Regions from separate parts of the Homo sapiens genome. Here region 1 is linked to region 2. The links are contacts of gene promoters, found by promoter capture Hi-C in blood cells and fetal thymus (Javierre and others, 2016). All regions are on one chromosome and are shown on one strand. Each heading gives the region's core, a stretch centred on a gene start or on the middle of the fragment in contact. The rest is flanking DNA. Distances are from core to core; before and after follow the strand shown.

Region 1 (3,207 bases), core at 707-3,206, 2.3 Mb before region 2:
CTCTAAAACTGTGAGAAATAAGTTCTTGTTCTTTATAAATAATCCAGCCTCAGATATTCTGTTACAGCAGCACAAAATGGACTAACATGATCTGTAAACAACATGTTGCTCGGTTTTGCCTGTTTTTGAGATGCATAAAAATAGTACCTTATAATGTGCTATCTTCTTAAGGATTTCTTTTTCTTCCTCACTCACTTTTATGTTTCTGAGATTTATCTTTATTGCAACATGTAGCTGTAGGTCATCCATCTCCACAGCTGGATAATATTTCATTACATGAAATTTCTACAGTTTATCTATGCAGTAGACCATCCATGGAAATATGGAATGTTCTCAGAATTTTTTTTTAATTATTATTATTATTTTTTGAGACAGAGTCTTACTCTGTTGCCCAGGCTGGGGTGCAGTTGTATGATCTCCCCTTACTGCCACCTCCGCATCCCAGGTTCAAGCGATTCTTATGCCTCAGCCTTCCGAGTAGCTGGGACTACAGGCGTGCACCACCATGCCTGGCTAATTTTTGCGTTTTTAGTAGAGATGGGGTTTTATCATATTGGCCAGGCTGGTCTCAAACTCCTGACCTCAAGTGATCCGCCCACCTCGGCCTCCCAAAGTGCTGGGATTACAGGTGTGAGCCACTGTGCCTGGCCCTCCGAAGATTTTTAATTTCAAAGAATTCTGTTATGATCTATTTTGTAAATATCTCCTCATGCATATGTACAAGAGTTTCTCTAGATAGATACCTAAGAGTGAAATATCTGGCTATAGGATGTGTGCATATTCAGTTTAAAATACTGTCAACTTGTTTTCCAAAGTGACTGTGCCAATTTATACTCCTATGTGTAGCTAAAGGCGTCCCTACTGCTCTATCTTTCCACCAACACTTTGAACAATCAGATTTGAAATCTTTTGCCAATTTGGTAGACATAAATTAGCATCTCAAGTGTCATCTTTATTTCCATTTTCCTGATTACTGATGAGGTTGAGCATATTTACAGACCACTGGTCTTTTGTCCATTTTTCTATTGAGTTGTTTATCTTTTTCTTATTGATTTTTTTTTTTTTTTTTTTAGACAGAGTCTCACTCTGTTGCCCAGGCTGGAATGCAATAGTATGATCTTGGCTTACTGCAACTTCTGTCTCCCGGGTTCAAGAGATTCTCGTGTCTCAGCCTTCTGGGTAGCTGGGGCTACAGGCACTTGACACCATGCCCGGCTAATTTTTGTATTTTTAGTAGAGACGGGGTTTCTCCATGTTGGCCAGGCTGGTCTTGAACTCCTGACCTCAAGTGATCTGCCTGCCTCGGCTTCCCAAAGTCCTGGGGTTACAGGCATGAGCCACCATGCCCAGCCTCTTATTGATTTTTATACTTACGTATTCTGAATATGATTTCCTTGTTGATTATAATGTTGTGAATATATTCTTCCAGTTTGTGGCTTGACTTTACACTTTCTGTACAGTGTCTTTTATGAAATAGAGCTTCTAAATTTTAATGCAGTTGCATTTATTAATCTTTTCTTTTCTTCTTATTCTTTTTTTGTTTTAAAATGACGATGAAATGTGCCTTCATGTTCTGGAAGGTTTTTTTTTTTTTTTTTTTTTTTTTTCCCCAGGCTAAAGTGCAGTGCCGTGATCTCGGCTTACTGCAACCTCTGTTTCCCAGGCTCAAGCAATCCTCCCACCTTAGCCTCCTGAGTAGTTGGAACTACCAGTGTGCAGGTGTGCATCAACATGCCTGGCTAATGTTTTTGTGTTTTTGTTCAGATGAGGTTTCGCCATGTTGCCCAGGCTGATCATGAATTCCAGGGCTCAAGTGATCCACCTGCCTCGGCCTCTCAAAGTGCTAGGATTATAGGTGTGAGCCATCGTACCCGGCCCAATCTTTTATGATTCCAATTTTTAATATATTATTTAATAAATCCTTCTCTACCGAAGTTGTTAAAACATTCTCCTACATTAGTTTCAAAAACTATTAAACTTTGATTTTCACATTTAAGTGATCTTTTTGAAATTATTTTTTGTATTAAAAATATAAATTTTGTGTTTTTTCCATATGAACAACCAATTGTCCCAGCACCATTTCTGTCCTTTCCCTGTTGGTCTTTGTGGTAGGCTGAACAATGGCTCTCCATAGATGTCCACATACTAATCTCTGTAACTGTGAATGTGTTACTTTTTAAGGAGAAAAGGAATCTGCAGGTATGATTAAGTTAAGGATCTTGAGAAGGGGAGATTATCTTGGATTACGTAGTGATCCCAGTATAATCAGAAGGTCCTCATTGGAGGGAGGCAGAGAAGTTAGAATCAGAGAAATGTAAAGACAGAAGTAGCTCAGGGGTTGAAGTGATGCACGTTAAAAATGGAGGAAGGGGTCACAAGCCAAGGAATGTAGGCTGGCTCTAGAAGCTGAAAAAGAATTCTTCCTTTGAACCTCCAAAAGGAACACAGCCCTGCAGACACATTAGAATTCTGGCCCCCAGAACTGCCTGATAATAAATGTGTATTGCTTTAAGTAACTAAATTGGTGGTAATTTGTTGCAGTAGCAATAGGGAACTAATAAAGTATTCAAAATCACCTTTGTTGGATGTCAAGTTTTCATATTTTTCTGAGGCTGCTTCTAGGTTCTCTATCCTGTTTCATTAGTCTATTATGTATCCTTCTGCCAACACCACACTCTTAGTTATAGTAGCTTCATTATAAATATTGACCTGGTAAATCAGGTCCTTTATCCTCCTCTTCCTACCTGTGTCATGGCTACTTGACTCTTCTTGGGCCTTTGCTTTTCTAGATAAATTTCTTTCTTTTTTTTTTTTTTGAGATGGAGTTTTGCTGTGTTTCCCAGGCTGGAGTGCAGTGGCACAATCTTGGCTCACTGCAACCTTTGCCTCCCAGGTTCAAGCAATTCTCCTGCCTCAGCCTCCCTCCCAAGTAGCTGGGATATATGCCACCATGACTGGTTAATTTTTGTATTTTTAGTAGAGACGGGGTTTCACCATGTTGGCCAGGCTTGTCTTGAACTCCTGACCTTGAGTGATTTGCCCCCCTCAGCCTCCCAAAGTGCTGGGATTACAGGCATGAGCCACCGTGCCCAGCCTCCAGATAAATTTCAGCATCTGCTTATCAAGTTCCTCAAATATGGCCATTGGGGTTTTTGTTTAGAATTACATAGATTCTAGAAATCAATTTGGGAAAAATTGACCTCATTT
Region 2 (3,558 bases), core at 225-2,724:
AAAAGGTATTAAAAGAAGCCAACTATATGAATTTCAGCTAATCATACCAAATATTACTTTCCTTCAACATGAGATATAAAAATATTCTAAGTTAACCTATTCTATATGTCCTACTATAATGCGTAAAGGACATTTAGTCTTTCAAAGTAAACAAGTAAACTCAGTTACCAACCAGGTTTCCCTTACATTAGACTCCCTCGATGGTGTCTTCAAAAGAAAAGCATGCTAAAAACTGGATTATCTTAGCTCCAGGGCACATTATACTAGATGGGTGGTCAACCAGAAGTCAGCAGACAGTGTTTCTGTAATGCTAAGGTGAGGTGACTACAATAGGTCAGAATGAAATGACGAGTGTAAACCAACTGGGGCTACCAGCCCATCTCTGCCAATGATTTGTAGTGAATTCTAGGCAAGTGATATACTTCTGGGCCCATTTCCCCATCTGTAACATAAGGATTCCGTGTTCAGACTACAGCGTTGACCCTTAGACTACCTGCTTGAAAGTGCCCCGGATGCATCTTAAAATGTAGGCTCCTGGGTCTTTCTTTGCTCCTAATGATTCTACCCCTAGGAATAAGACCAAGAACGTGTGTTTTAACGAACACTCCAAAAGCTAAGAACTATTGCTTTAAGATACCCGAGCGTCCTCCGAGCTCTGCAACTGAACTATTAAGGGTCTTAAAATTCGGCACCCGGCCTTTGGGAAAACACCCAGCGCTTTTGGAACTTTCGTGCCATTACATCATCTCAACCTATGGCTGTCCTGTATCTTCCTCAGTACTCAGTCCACTGGTTGGGGCCGAAGAGGTCCAGCTCAGAGTGACCTCCATGTGGCGTAACAGCCCAGAGTGGGAATCCCGCTTCTGACAGGTTAGAAGTGACCTTGTGAGGAGTGTGGATCTCTAAGACTCAGATGTCGTTGCTATAAAATGGGGAAAATACTACCGACCCTAATCCAAGGGCTTATGCCTCCGTGAGCATTGATGAGTTTGGGTGCCTGGTCCCCGAGAAAGTTCACCCAGCCCGCTAGATTCAGATGAGAACCCGGCAGCAAACTTCCCTGTCAACCCACAACACCTCTGCCCCTGCCCCAGGTGCCGCTACCAGCGCAGCGGCTGTACGGCCTCGCCGCAAGGATGACTCAGCACCTTGTTGCCCGAGGACAGAAGCACAGCTACACTGAGCCCTTGCCCGCCTGACCAGGGCCTTGTGCCGCCGCCCTCTCCACCAGGTCACCCACAGGACTGCGACCCCAACGCGCAGGCCGGCCCTGACGCAGCCAGCAGCACCGCTGCTTCCAGCCCTTCCCCCCGCACCCAGCGGTCCCGTGAGGGCGGCTGTCAGGACCACCGGGGATCCCGGGCGCCCGCCGGCCAGCCGGAGCAGTACCTCGGTCCCCGGTCACCTTCGCCTCGCAGTTTCCCTTCCGGGCCCCTAGCGTCGGCCTCAAAGAGCACAGTTCCTCCGGCGCACTGCATGACGCAACATCGAAAGGACGTAAATAGTACGAGCAGCCAATCACGGGCAGGCCTCTGTCGGAAAAGCGGCCACACTGGGGGAGGCGGGGTTCCGGGTTGAGGAGGCGGGGTTCCAAATTGGTGGGGCGGGGCCAGTTGAGGATTGTTGCAGGGAACGTCATAGTCAGCGTCCATTTTGCGTGTGGGCATGGGAGTCGTCTCGGCCATCTTTGTTTTGGGCAGTGGAGCTCTGTTTTGCTTTTGTTTTAGTCGTTTCACTCGCCGCAGCTATAAGAATTATGTAAAAATTGAAAGAAAGTAATGTTAGAGTTAAAAATTATTCCGTTTATTCCGTTCCTTTTTGAAGGCCTTTTTGTCCCTTAATTTATCGTGAGATAAATATCTTTTCAAATGTGTCTGCTTCTGAGCCGAGTCATCCGGTTTCTGGGGTCTCATGCCAAATGTTAGATGGTGACATCCAGAAAAGATTTTTTCTAGATGGTTTTTTCATTGCTTTGTGACTTTCCCGCCCACATTTTCAAGTTTCACCCTAAACCTGTGTAATAGGCCTGATAACAGCCGCCTCTGCCTTGCACCCAGGATTGCTCTGAGGACTAAGATGTTTCCATTGCGCGTAATTTGATAGGTGAAGAGCTAGTTGTGGAATACGCGAGAGAGTTACTTTCTTTTTCACTCTCCCTCTATTTCAACAGATATTTACTGAATGCTCAACTTCGTACCAAGCTCTGTTCTAGAAATATATACAAATGAATCAGCCGGGCGTGGTGGCTCAAGCCTGTAATCCCAGTACTTTGGGAGGCCGCGGCGGGTGGATCACTTGAGGTTAGGAGTTCGAGACCAGCCTGGCCAACGTGGGGAAACCCTGTCTCTACTAAAAATACAAAAATTTGCCAGGCGTGATTGGTGCCTGTAATCTAAGCTACTTGGGAAGCTAAGGCAGGAGAATCACTTGAACCCAGGAGGCGGAGGTTCCAGTGAGCCCAGATCCCGCAACTGCACTCCAGCCTGGGCGATAGAGGGAGACTCAGTCTCAAAAAAAAAAGAAACCAAAAAAACAAAAACAAAAAAACAGCAAATGAATTAAACCCGTGTGTGCTACCACTATTTTAACAAAATAAAGTCCTTGCTCTGTGGCTTTACTTTCTGGTAGAGACAGAACATAGAAAAAATATAATGTGATAACTTAATACCATGAAGAAAGAGCAGATTAAAACCCTGAAAGGGTGATAAGGTGATTAACAACATGCAAAATTCATGAACCTTTATCTCCTAAGCAGTAGTTAATTGTGATTTATGATTCCTAATCATGTAAACCTTGACAAATATAAAGACTTGCCTTCTATGTGGATAATAAAAGAGTCTGGCAGCAACACAATTCTTATCTCTTTACGCTGAAAATGGCAGGAAAACACTAGAGAAATCTCACGAAACTGAACAGATCAAGCATGATCAGTTTAATTTTTATTTTGATCTATGCCCAATTTTATTAGCTAGCAAATAGGTTTTCTGTTTGGCTCCTTCAGTGATAGTCTTTTTTTCTAGAGCTTCTGTTATCAGCAAAGAGAAAGGATTTACAACACAGTACCAGAATAAAGATCTTGAAGTCAATGACTCAAGCTTTCTTCAAGATTCCTATTAAAGCTTATTCTCTCCATATTGGAAGAAAAATGTCTGATTTCATATTTTCCTTTCTCAAGTAAAGGGCTTGTATTGTTGTTTCCACAGGGGTCAAATATTTTGAAGCAGGGGAGGAATCTGGTCATATCATTGGGAAATATATGCTCTTGTGGCAGTGTAGGAAGGGAGAGGTTCCATGGACCAGGAGACCAATTAGGAATTTATTGTAGTTGTTCAACCAAAAGGCAATAAAGGCTGGAATTAAGCCAGTAGAAAGACACAGAGGGGTTTATGACAGAGATATATTGCTGAAGTGGAGTTTGCAGGATTGAATGGTCGGTCAAATATAGCTGATAAGAATGAGGAAGGCTCCCTGAGTAATCCTTCTGAACTGGGTGGATAATTTTATCATTAATTTAGCAATAGGATACAGGGAGAGATACAAGTGAGGGGAAGTAGATAC

Evidence for each region. The method cuts DNA at HindIII sites, captures the fragments that hold promoters and counts their contacts. A CHiCAGO score of 5 or more calls a contact.
Region 1: a fragment that was not itself captured here is called in contact with the fragment with the promoter of GHITM in region 2 in 6 of 17 cell types (naive CD4 T cells, total CD4 T cells, naive CD8 T cells and 3 more); the score reaches 11.2 in naive CD4 T cells.

What each region holds. Positions count from the first base shown.
Region 1 is chr10:86,404,699-86,407,905 of GRCh38, reverse strand. No RefSeq gene overlaps it. Among named protein-coding and RNA genes, the nearest start is that of GRID1, 40 kb to the right of the region's middle. The HindIII fragment of the contact is 7,283 bases long and covers 1-3,207 here.
Region 2 is chr10:84,137,425-84,140,982 of GRCh38, reverse strand. GHITM (growth hormone inducible transmembrane protein) reads right to left here and starts at 1,474. Exons shown (of 9, transcript NM_014394.3): 1 at 1,390-1,474. RefSeq lists a silencer at 1,194-1,393 and enhancers at 967-1,536, 1,537-2,106. The HindIII fragment of the contact is 9,095 bases long and covers 1-3,097 here.